Regions from separate parts of the Homo sapiens genome. Here region 2 is linked to region 1. Evidence: promoter capture Hi-C in human tissues and cell types (Jung and others, 2019). All regions are on one chromosome and are shown on one strand. Each heading gives the region's core, a stretch centred on a gene start or on the middle of the fragment in contact. The rest is flanking DNA. Distances are from core to core; before and after follow the strand shown.

Evidence for each region. Contacts are between HindIII fragments. The study calls those that stand out against the background at their distance.
Region 2: a fragment that was not itself captured here is called in contact with the fragment with the promoter of TNR in region 1 in 1 of the 25 tissues and cell types used here (bladder).

The regions. Positions count from the first base shown.
Region 1 is chr1:175,739,598-175,746,152 of GRCh38, reverse strand. TNR (tenascin R) reads left to right here and starts at 2,558. Exons shown (of 23, transcript NM_003285.3): 1 at 2,558-2,927. The HindIII fragment of the contact is 10,162 bases long and covers 952-6,555 here.
Region 2 is chr1:175,687,780-175,694,096 of GRCh38, reverse strand. All of the region lies in intron 1 of TNR (tenascin R), which reads left to right. Among named protein-coding and RNA genes, the nearest start is that of TNR, 53 kb to the left of the region's middle. The HindIII fragment of the contact is 8,304 bases long and covers 1-6,317 here.

The DNA.
Region 1 (6,555 bases), core at 1,309-3,808:
TCTGAAATATTCCTACTTCCCAATACATTTAATAATTGTACATCCACCAGAAAAAAAATACTAGCACCCTAAATTTCCCCTTTTTTTGAACTGACTAGTGCCTTTTTTATGGGTTTCTCATCTAATAGTAACAGATCATACTTCCAGCTTCCTGGTAGATGCTACACCCTCACTCGGTTATGTTAGCTTCTATGTTATTGAAACACTCTATTAAATGGTGTGGGCACTTCTAAGTGATGAGAGAAGATATCATCATGCTTCACAAAGGGGATGACTTTAGAGTCAAATAGATGTGCATTTGATTTGGGTTCTATACTTATTAGATGTGTGAACTTGAGCAAGCCACTTAACTTTTATGAGCCTCAGATTCCCCATTTGTCAGTGGAAGGGTAATACTTTCTTTGAAAGTTTCCTACTATGCTCTTTCCCCTTTCCCTCCTCCATGAGTTTGCACATGCTATGCCTTCAGCTTAATTCTCTCACCCACTTTTTGCTGGGAAGACTTCTGATTATTCAGGCCTCAGCTTAGATGCTGCATACCTTAGGAATTCCCCTAGCCCTCAAAGATCAAGTTAGTTGTGTTTTCCATGTGCTCACTGCCCAAATTCTTGGCACTTAGTCCTTGAATTGTAATCATTTGTGTCTTGCTCTTTCTTTCCCCCTTTGAGGAACTGGTAACTCTGTTGAGGACAGGGACCATGATTTGTTAATTGTCACCTACCATCTTTGTCCTACTTCATCCACTTTTCACCCAAAAAAAAAAAAAAAGCCAGAAAAAGTAAGCCACCTCAGCTAAGGAATTCATAATTCTGAGATTCTGAAGAAAATGTCAATTTCTCACTGAGCGTTTATTACCTGAATGCATTACAACGTTTCAGCTCTTCAAATTGCTGGCTCCGTTCTTGCACTGTGTTAGGCAGTGGGCAATAATTTGCTTTTGGTACAGAAATTGAGTGATGTGTCTTCTGAACTGATGTTAAAACCCAATAGTTTCCAATTTTATAAGATTTAAAGCCAGTTTTGTATATGTGAAACTACCCAAATCACCAAGAGAATTAATTTTCTTAGGAGATTCTCATCGGTAATAGCAATTTCCACAGTTTGTTTGGCACCCCTAGTGGTAAATATTTTATTTTAAAAACTCAGCCACATATAAATTTATTGTAACAATCTAGGCACTTTGTCATAAATAAAAGCAATGATAACTGTGGTGCTATCTTCTATTTACTTCAAATGTCACTCCTGAAGTGTACATTTATAGAACATGGTAATTCAATGAGGAAGCTCCAGGGTCAGATGGCTCAGGTTCCATTACCATCCCTGACACTCACTAGTTGTGTGATCTTTGGAAAGTTATTTCATTCCTCTGTTACTCAGTTCCCAGTCTATAGAGTAGCAATAATAGCCTCTGCATTATAGAGTTATTGTATGGCTTAAATGAGCTAATACATGTAAGGGCTTATAACAGTGCCTAGCACCTGGTATAAACACTCTATAAATGTTAGCTATTGTTATTTGCCAGGAGTGAATCAAATATAAGAAGAGTGTTTGTATAAGATTACCTTTAAATTCCCTGCCAATCCTGAGGTTCTATGTTTCTATATCATTCCAGTCCCTTAGCATTCCTATTCAGTAGGGAGGGGGCAGCATTATCCACATTTTACAAACAGTAAAATTGAGCCATAGAGAAGCAAAATGTCCAGTAAGCAAGTGGCAGTCTGAAACCAGGACTCAGATTTTTAGATGTAAGTATTAGGACTCTTTCCGGGAGGCTGTGTGGCTGTACATTTAAAAGAGAATGTTAGATATCCCTTATGAGCCTATGAGCAGTGACCCCTTGATGCCCCTTCTCTGCCAAGGTTCTCCATAAATGTGCATCAAGGTCACTTCTGTCTCTACTTCTGAGATGATCTCAGGCCATATCTTTTCAGATATTTTTCTTACTAGCTTTACAAAAAAGCTATATTGTGGAGTTGGATGAAGGGCCAGCTCCCTGTATCCTCTGCCTCTTTAGGCATTCCCATGCCTGGGTTGTGCTACGTATACACATACTTCACCTGGCTGCAGACGCTGACTTTTTGGAGGGTTCCTTCTGCTGAGCCCGGACCTCAAACCACTTGAGAACCCCACAACTGACCTTATTCCAAAACATTCTATCCCAACCCATTCCACCCTGGATTTCTCCTTCAATCATGGGCAAAGGATCTGCAAAAGCTTCCATCCTCTCCCTTTCTCTTCTTATCTGGGTTGGTCAGAGGGAAGCCTCTATCTTCTTCAGGACCCTGCCTATGCAGAGGCAGCTCCAAGAGTTGGGTGCGGGGAGTATTTCTGTGCCTGAATCTGGACTGTTCAAGAGGATTTAGGATGCTTTTCTTTTCTGTCCACTAGGGGGCTGCTTGTAGGGGGATGGAAAAAACGGAGGCTTAAAAAAATCATGCTGCTGAAATTTCAGCAAGAGGGGAAAAGAGAGAGCGCGTGAGAGAGAGAGAGAGAGAGAGAGAGAGAGAGAGAGAGAGAGAGAGACAGCAAAGCAGTCCCAGGCTTCCTCCTCTCTTTCACGTCAGAGGCAGGAACCGACTGTGCTAAGGCTGTTGGCTCAACACCCAGAGGAGACGGGCAGACCCAGGGAGAGTGAGAGAAGGGGGTCCTCTCTGACCCAAGGAATTACCACTAGTGGAGTGAAGCCACCTGACTTTTTGATCTTATTTTGGTTGCCTCCTCATTCTCCTTCCACCCGTAGCCCTGACAGCTTGGGTTTCATTTCTTTCGTGGAGCCTTGTCTCTTCCTCCCAGAATAGGAGGAAGGGAAGAGAAGGGAAAGAGGAGGGCTCTCTAGGTGAGCGCATCAGCTGGCTCCAGCCTGAGCAAGCAAGAATTTTCTTCCCAGGAAGCTCCTCTCGCTCCCCGGCCGCCCACCCCCAGCCTGGGTAAGTCCAGAGCACTCGCTCCTTTGATTTTCTGGCTAACGTGATTTCAGCACCAAGGAGAGCTATGAGATGCATTTTGGTTCCTGTGTATCTGTGTGTTCTGCAAGGCATTTGGCACTAGGGTTACATCTATTTCTCTGCTGCCAGTAGAGTCGGGTTCTGCGTAGGGAAAAGAAAGGCGCAAAACTATGTTTACCGAATTAAAGGGGGATTGGACTCTGGCCTTGCGGGTGTGTGTGTGTGTGTGTGTGTGTGTGTGTGTACTGTTGCATAAGACAGGTGAGGTCTGAGCTAAATTGCGGGTGGTTTCTGCGTGTCTCCATGTAAGGCTGTTCTTTTTGTCTGTAGATAAGCGAGATGGTTTGGGGAATTAGTCGTGCACCTTCTTTAACTCTCTCCCGACAAGCCATCCATGGTGGGAAAGAGTTGCAAAGGAAGCCTGGGGGGTTGGGAGTGGAGGTAGAGTTAAAAGTTACGCACCTCTGAGAGAGCTTTAAAGAGGTGCTTTGTAAAATGTCAGTTTCCTAGTATTCTCTGGGCTCTTGCTGTGGAGAGAGCCCAACCTGACCTTTTACTTTCTCTTCTGGTGTGAACCCATGGTAAGTGGGCAGGTGCAACAGGTGAAGCTCAGGCTGGGGCGGCTTTGGGGGGTTGAGGTCCCTTCTGACTTCATGGTGGTAGGAAAGTGCTAGTGTCTTGAGCTTTGCAGAGACTGGCTGGTGTGGGTTATATTACATTTGCAAGGAGGCAGGAGGTACCCTCCACTTTTATGCCATCTTTGGCTATGGGTGGTTGGAAAGAAGACAAAGTCTGTTCTGCCCTGTTTTCTGGGGCATTTGGCAGTGAAAAACAACTAAGAATAAAGGTTTGTCTCTATATGTCTAGGGTGAGCAGAAACAAAATTAGACTTGTCCCAGACTCAGGAGGGCTTGAAGTGGTACTCTGTTCTCCTCCAGCACTGAGAGGCTCTGCAAACAGGAGCTCATTATTACTTCTTTCTTCACTGCTGCTACTTTTTGCAAGGTATTACTCTGTCTCTCCTGCTTTCTGCCTCTCTGAAGTATGTTCAGTCAATTCCCTGCATCTGCTTTGGTATTGTCTTGGAGACACTATAGGCCTGCCCCTGCCCCATTCAGTCCTGGCCACACCTACCTGGTTGAGTCATTCAACAAGTGGTGTTGAGGATTTCCTTCAATCATTCAAGTCTCCGTGGAGCCAGCATCCTACAGGGAACTTGAAAGAGATGTGGCTTCTTGTAGGAGCAAGTCTTCCCTTGATTTAACCCCTAACTGTTTATGGTTCTGGTCACTTTCTTCAAGTGTGTTGAGACAGGGGAGATACATAGGCAAGGTGGGGTGGTTTCACTCTTTCCAACCCCAAATGGACCCTAGAATGGTGATTCTTTGTCTTATTTTTAATTCAGCACAATGGGCCCCTTCTCCAAGATGAAGAAAATACTCTCTGCCTCTGGCTGGGGAGCCTTCTGGGTGAGAGACACAGTTCTGAGTGAAATGGCACCACTTTTCTTTTTTACTATGCTTGGCATTGGATCCAGAAATCTTAGCATCTCCCTAGAGTGGCAGGAAGTAGAATGCATCCAGGAAGACAGTGAAGTCAGAGGTTGTAAGGGTAGGGAAGAAAGACTGAAATAGACAAATGCAGAGCATCAGAAACCAACACTGACTCATTCAGTATTTTAACATTCCAAACCTCCTGTCCTTGAAATCTTCCAGTTTGAACAAGTGAGTGGATAGATTTCTGCATGACACATCACTGAGGATTTTTAAAAAATTATGCCCTTGCAGTGGACCCTGTCCAAAACCACAGTTTATTACTGAAGTCACCATACTTAGTAGTCATTATCTCATTAATGCCCTTAAATTTTCTCTGAAAAAAAAGTGCTCAGTGACATTATTGGACCCATTTTATAAATGGAGAGACACAGACGCTTAAAGTGGGAAGCCAGAGGATAGCGAAAGCAGAAATAGAACTTCTAGCCTGCTAATATTCCCTCACCTAGGAAATGCAGTAATGCTCATGTGCAGGAGAGAAGGAATGGATTGCTCCCCATTGGATAGACTTGCAGCCAAAGCCTTTTAGGGAACTCAGTGTGGAGCAATGGCCTCTCTCTGGTGAAGAATGAGAATCAGCCAGAAGTCTCAAGGTGCTGCTGGCCTTTACTTCTCAGCTAAGAAGATGGCCAAGAGCCAGGTAAAGAGCTCTCTGGGCTTACTGCAAAGAGAGAACCCTGGGCTGGTGGCATCTAGGCTGAACTGATGTCGTGCACCTGATTGTCACATCACCATGCCCCAGAAATCCCAGCTGAAGCCACCCTATCTGGGGCATGTTGCCATGGATGTCTTGGCTTTGGGTGTTTGGTGACTGTTCTCTCTAAGAACGTTTTTCTGGGACCACCTTCATTGAGTCCTCTGTGGCTCTGAATGTGGCAAGGATGACTAAGGAGCAGGAGAGGGCTGGGCTCTGACCACCTATAGAACCACTAGAAGAGGAGTGGGAAACTGGATACAAACTCACTTTACATATAATGCCACTTCTGCAGCATTCCTGGCCATCATATCTGGCCAGCAATCTGGAGACAAAGCCACTAAGTTCTCATGCCCAACCCCCCTTCACTGTGTAGGGGAGACTGCTGGGCTGCCACCCAGGACTGGGGAGATGAGCAGTGGTGGGGAAAGATGGAAGGAGGAGGTCAGCTGTTCTGCCCTATTCTCCATGGCCATAGGTTGCCATCTTTTACCTGGAAAGCGCCATTATTACTTTTTTTTTGTTGAAAAAAATGACATATAATTTGTATATAATAAAATGCACTGATCTTAAGTATTCAGATTAAGTTTTGACAATTGTGTACACTTGTATACCCCAAAAAAGATGTATAAAAGTTCCCTGTGCTTCTTTCCAATTTCTCCCTCTCCCAACACCATCACTTTCTGACTTGTGTTTGTGCATATGTGGTATCACCATAGCTTATGCTGCTACATTTTGCAGCAGAAATGTATTGCTGAATGTATTACTTAATAGATGTGGTATGTAAACCCTAGACTTTCAAGGGAACACCTCAGAGTTCTGAGGCTATTGTTACTGGGTAAGTAGCAAAGATGTGGGAGGGGTACATTCTGCTCCCCAGCCTTGAGGTCATGGTGTTAGAAAGTCAAGTGGTCATTTCAACCGCATTTATAGAAACCAACAATCAAATGTGAACAGAAACTGTGGAAGCTCCTGCAGGCAACTGCCTCAGAGCTGACCTGAGTTATTTGATGGAGTTCATAGAGATGATTTTGAAATTTTTATTAAAAACTTAGAATTCAGTATTCCAAGTTGGTGGTTGGTCATGTCTCCCCATCTGGGCTCCAGGAGAGTGAGCTGAGGAAAGAGTACCTATGTGAGCTTAGTAAAGAAAGAAAGAGGAGAGTTCATTGTGATAGAGCTTATACCATGAAATTGAGTCCTATCCACAAAGGTCATGGCTGAGGAGGGTGCCGTTTCTCTTTATTTAAGAGTAAATTTAGAACCAGAAGCCACTTACAGAGACCCATGTACCAACATAGCTCTATGCAGGGATGTCTCCATTCACCCTGCTTCCGTCCCTGGGTTGTGGGCTGGGTGAGGT
Region 2 (6,317 bases), core at 2,132-4,631, 53 kb after region 1:
GAGGACATGGGTAAAACTAGACATAAATACAACATGAGTAAGAAGAGAAAGGATCCTGGGATTGAGCCTCAAAGAACTCTGGCATATACAAACAGTGGATTTTGAAGGCTTATTCTTCTACTTTTTACATATACTGAATTTAAAGGCATTCCTCAGCTAAGTCTTTATAGAATTTGATGTTTTATATACATGAATAAGTTAAGGACAAGAGAGCAGTTGAAATGTACTTCAGCATGGTCCATGATTTTATTGTACAGAAAGTTATTGCTCATCATCCCTCGTGCTGGACACATGCAAGGAGGCTGGCTTCTCCATTTCATGCATGTATACACATTGCTGGAAATGAGATCAAATCAGATGAGATTGGGCGCATTCAGGGTGTTGGGGCTGTAGACGTGAGATTCAATCAAAGCATTCTCAGTCCTATGTGGCAAATTTTAGAACAGTCACCTGTAGAACACAGTGTTTGCCTCATCCCCATCCCTCTTGTGAGTCAGGAATGGCCAGGAGAGGAGGCATTGTGAATGACAGCGTACAGATGGGCTCCTGGGAAACCTAAGAGGAGGGAGGGAAATTAATCATCAAAGTCTCCTTGGATAACCACATTTCCCACATGTGACACAGGGGATGATCAATGGAGACGGGGCTCTAGGGCCCTGGCAAACAGGTAAACAGATCATCTTAGAGGAGGATTTCTGTCGGGAGACAGTTTGTGTTCCTAAACTAGGATGGTTAATTTGATGCCACACATGATTGAGCACCTTCTCTGTGTCCCACACATGTGTAGTACAGGTTACAAGGGAGACAGGTGGATGGTGGAGGGTGTTTGAGAAATAAAAGAGAAGTGAGCAGTGTGGCCACTCCAGCCTCAGAGACTCCTGGAGAGGTAACAGAGAGCAAGCTGGGATTGTGTGTGATGATGCAGTACTTTTTGGGAAATAAGTCTCTTTTTTCCAAAGACTGTGACCTCATTACCTCTAACATTCTATGTAGTTTACAACTGTTTGTCATGTTTGTAGTTTATTGTCTGTGTCCTGTCACTTGAATAACTTTACAAGTGCAGAGGTCTGTGTCTGTTTTCCTCAATGGCATATTGCAAGCACCTGGAACAGTGCCTGCACAGAGTAGATGTTCAATGAATATTTGTTGGATGAATGAATGGGTGAACATTCTTCCCAATTCTGTGAAGCAGGACTGATATGGTTCTCCCTACATGTGATGTTGTCTCCCTGCATACGTCCTCACCAGTTCACATAACAATGTGTAACAAATAATCCCTCTTTACCCTATTTGTCTCTGTTTGTCTGCACACCTTGAAGGAAGGTAGGGCCTATACTAGGGCCTGTGAAGTTCATGACTCTTCTTCCCAAGTCTCCCACTGCCCTTTTCATGAGACCTTCCTCTCCTCTCCCCTGTTAGTGGACCCATTCAGGGCAGTAACTCCTCTGGCCACCTCTCCACTGCTTACTCCTGCTTAGCCCTCAGTGAGACTGATCTTTGCCCATGGTGTTCTCTCAACTGTACGTGGGAAAATGAGCTTACTTGTTTATAGCTGCAAATTAAAGACTTTATTCTTCAAGTGTGCAAATTTCAGACCCAAGGCAGATGGAAAGATGGATGAAGGGAACTTGAGGCACTCTCCACTTATATTAACCATCGCTAGGGCAGATGCCACGCACACATATATTTGGTCCATCTTGGAAGGATGTGACAAGAACCAGTAAATTCCCAGATGGCCCCTGTGCCTCCTCTCTGGAGGTCCAGCCAGGGCCATGTCTAGCTGCACAAGACCATGTCCCAAGCATTGCCAGGGGCAGAGCCAGGTCTTTTCCCAGTCCTGGAGTGTCCCGACCCAGACCATGTTTTCCCTGGCTCTCTTCAATGGCCCCTCTTCTTGCATGTGTCTGCCCCAAGGTTAATTGGCATCTAATTTCATTTTATCCCTCTTATTCCCTTTCCTGACACCCACGGATACATTTTGCTCCATTCATTGTTACTTCCACCTCTGGTAATAGCATTTTGACTGTGAAGTATGTCATGGGAACCGAACTACTTTGCCGATGCAAAGTGCAAAATTGAACTTAATTAAGAATGAAAATTAATTATATATGAAATAATTTCTGAGAGGTTGTAGAGATGAATGTGGGTATTCTTCTCAAGGAAGCCCCTCAGAGGAGGTGAGGCTTGGATGAGTCTTGAGACAGGAATTGGAGCCATTTCAGGATGGCATGGGATAGCCCTCCTGAAACGGAATGCATGTGGGAATATCACACGATGGTTTTGGCAGCTAGGGAGAGAATGAGCCTGAAGAAAAGGTTTGTGTTGGAGAATAGAGCAAAAATAAGAAATCTGATTACTCCCCACAGCTGCAGGCTGCCTGTCTGTCACCTAAGCTAACAGGTTTCCCCTGATCTGAGCATTGAAACCGACAAAGAGATTAATAAACCAAGTTTGGGGCTGAAAAAGGACAGGACCTACCGAGAACTCAGTCAGTACCTGTTTAAGGCTCTGAAGCTGATTTTTAGGGCCTGGAAAGAAGGGGCTGGGTCTGGCTTGTTAAGGAACACAGTGGGTAGAGAGACCAGAGATTTCACTTTTGAGTAGCCTCTCTGTGCCTCAGTTGTCTCATCTAGAATTTGGAGAGAATAACAGTATCTCCTTTTTAGGCTTGTTGTGGGAATTAAAGTTAGTTAAAACACAGGAAACTCTTACAACTGTGCCTGTCACATAATAAGTTCTTTGTTGTTACTACTACTACCTTCCTCTTCCTCCTCCTCTTATAATTATCATCATCATTAATATTACTATTTTGAAACCGTTGATCTCTCAACTTCCTTGACATCACTTTCTCTAGGTTTTCTTCCTACCTGTGGCCTGCGTTTCCCATCCTGCTCTGCAGAGCCACCTTGTTCTGCTCTGCTGCTGGGTGTTAAGGTGTGGATAGGACTGGACACCCTTCTCAGCTGCATGCTGTCCATGGTGCTATCCAACTACTTACTATAGAGATGTTTAATTAACATCTCAAGTTTAAAATGGCCCCAAAGAACTCTTGACTTCCTGTGCCAAACACCCCAACAAATTCTTCATCCAACAGTCCATTTTAACAAATGCTATCATGACTCACCAAGTTGATTAGTTCCCAAACCTAGAAGGTTTCCTTGATTTGTCATTCTGCTTCACACCTCATATCCAATCCATCAGCCAGTCTCATGTATCTTACTTCCTAAATCTATCTAGAATATGTTCAATCTTCTCTCCTCCTTCAATGACTCCCACCCTTCCCTCAGCTGCCATCACAATAGTCTCCTAACTCACTCCACCTGTTTCTCTTTTGTTCTACTCCAATACTTCTCTGCGCAAAGCCAGAGGGAACATTAAATAATTACTTCAGATCAAGTCCAGTGACTTGTTATCACAATCAAACTTAAACCCAAATGGCTCCCCCTGGCACTTAAGCCAAGAGGATCCAGTCCTGCCTAGCTCTGCACCTGCCTCACCACCTCTCATCCTCCCAACTGCTCTGCTACAGCCACACGGGTCTTCCCTCCTGTCCTCAAACCCACCCAGCTTATTCCCACCTGGGGACTGAGCTGTGTCTTCTGAGAGTCATGTGGAATGCCCCTTCTTGCTCTTTATGACTCAGTGTGACTGTCACCTTCTCAAGAGGACTTTCCTGGTCACCCCATCTAGAAGTAGCAACCCCATCACTCACTCTCACATCAGTCTATTTTAATGCTTTGCACACTTGTCACCAGATCATATGTTCTTGTGTAAACATTTGTTGATTCTCTTATGATGTCCAGACACTGAAGCAGAGACCTCATCTGTCTTTGTCACTTCAGTACTTCAGAGCCTATAACAGTACCCCACACGTAGTAGGTACTCAAATCAAAATTTATTATGTTTATTGAGTTATAAAGATCCACGGCAATGTAATAGAATAAAAAGACATAGCTTTGGCCCGGATCTAAGCCAAAAGCCTGGTTCTTCCTATATGAACTTGTAATTTTGCCTGTAAACCTGCTTACAGCTGTATGACCTTGAACTTGCTTACCAACTCTGAGCCTTGACTTATCCATTTGTTAAATAGCAGTACCATTATCCTACTTAATGTTGTGACAATTACATGAAACAATGAATCATGGAAAATAGTGTGTGTTGCCTATTATTGATTCACAACAAATTCTACCTATTAGTATTGAGCCTCTGGGTAGTAACGGAAACCGAGGCCTCAGGTATTGGAGAAAAGGACTTAGTGAGAAAGAAACCCTCTGCCTGTAGATTGAATAAGCACAGTGAGAGAGAGAAAACGCAGCCTGCAGTCTTCCCTCACCCCTCCCTGTCTGGCCACCCTGTTATAATGCTGCTGTTGGCAGTGCCATTAAAATGTGCATAAATATTGGTGCATTCTAATGGGATGGCATCGAGGCCAATAAAGGCAATGAGAGGCAAGGTTATTGATGTCTGTCTGAGGGCCTCCACGGGACCCAAGCCAGGGCTGTAACAAGGATCCAGAAGTTGCATCAAGCCAATTGATTCTCTATCACCCCAGGAAGACACGCATTCAAGGGAGCTGGCAGCCTGGCCAGCCATAGCCTGCGTTAATGAAAACATGCAAATAGCCCTGCTCCCAGCATCATTTCCCTCCCTGGAAGCTTGCAGGCCTCCAATCTAAGAGGTATTTGGCACCTTGGATTTGTACAGATGAAAACAATGGGGAAAAAAACCTGGGGTAGATTAAGGTATTCGGTCATGCTACCTGGTATCCCTGTGGAAAGACGGGCTCTTTGTGACATGTTTTAGCAAGCAGGGAGGTGATGAAGAGGCAGTGTGCCACTGTCTGGAGTCCCTCTGGGTGGCCAAGATGTTGCATAGTGGCCTGGTGAAGGACAAAGAGCCCTAGGCAGAAGCCAGGAGAAGATTCCAGGCTCAGGCCTCTGGTCCTCTCTGGGCTTCACATGAGCCATCAGTGGGAGGGTTTCCGACGTGGTCCTACAGAGACAGCCAGGGCATTGAGGCCTGCAGGATGCCAAGAACTCTAGTTACCTGTGTGCTTGCCATCTCCTCACTAGACTGGGAGCCCCCTGAGGTTAGTGGCCGTGTTTTATTCATTTATGGATTCCCAGAGCACAACATAGTGCCAAGCATGCAGAGGTCACTGTATAATGTTTGCTGAGTGAATGACTTTGACAACACCATCTCTGGCTTCTGTCATAAAAGACATGGCCTTGGCCTTGCAGCATGGAAGAAACTCTCTGAGAGGGCAGAAAGATGAGAATGGAAGTGACTTACAGAGAACTGGCTCATGGGTAGGGAGTTTTGGGAAAAAACAAACAGAAACTTAGGGCCTAGTCCTCACTGCACTCTGACTTTACCAAACAAAGTCACATGTTGCTTCTGAATTCTGTTAAATCCAGCCAGCTTTAGGGATTGCTAGTGGCAAAGGCAAGGCCTCTCAGGTACCCACACCATGCAAATTGCATCCTCATTTCCTTCCTTTCTAACTGGTCCCACTGCCCTCTGCTTCCTGGGTTACTCAGTGGACAAAACAGAACAAAACTGGGGTCTGTGGCATTTGGGGTCTGCAACAGACTCAGTCATTCTCTTCCTCATTTGTTCATTCATTCATTTGCTCAACTAATGTTCATTTAGCATCTGCTTTGCTCCAGGCAGAGAGATTTCCTGGGCAGTCACAACAAAACGGAATAGCAAGCCTCATCACAGTTATTTAGAAAGCTCACTGCCTCCTTTCTTCCCGGCCTCTTCTTAAGTCAGGGCTGATTCTGAAGTGCTCATTCTCAAGTCTGCAACCCTAATGAGAAGCACAGGAGCTGTAGATAGGCTTGTCTGCCACAACCCCCGTGGGACTGGGGCTCCTCCCTGTACCCAGCCTAGAATGCTCTGGAACCTTGGCACTCAGCAGAGCTGAGGGCTCATTTGACACAAGGCATCCAGGGCCCTAGTTATTGAAATGTCAGAAGTGCTCATTAGAAGTCAGTTTCCTCTATGTGAGACGCTTGTTCTCCCATCGTGTTCCCAAGGAGGCTGGGGAGAAGGGGAGTACAGCGCTCTGACCCATCTAATTTAATTTATAACTTATGTCACAGCAGCAATTAGTATGTATTGTTTACATTCCTTCTTAACACTTTCCCCAAATCCCTGGGTGTTTGAGATGGCTGGTGTATTCACGCCCAGCTTGCTGGAAGATTGGAGCGTATTCTGGGGGAGGGGAGGGTGTGGTGGGGGGCGCTAACAGCAGAAGATAGGGAGGGCTGGGCAGTCTTCAGCCTGAGCCATATGGGATGCATCTTGCTTGA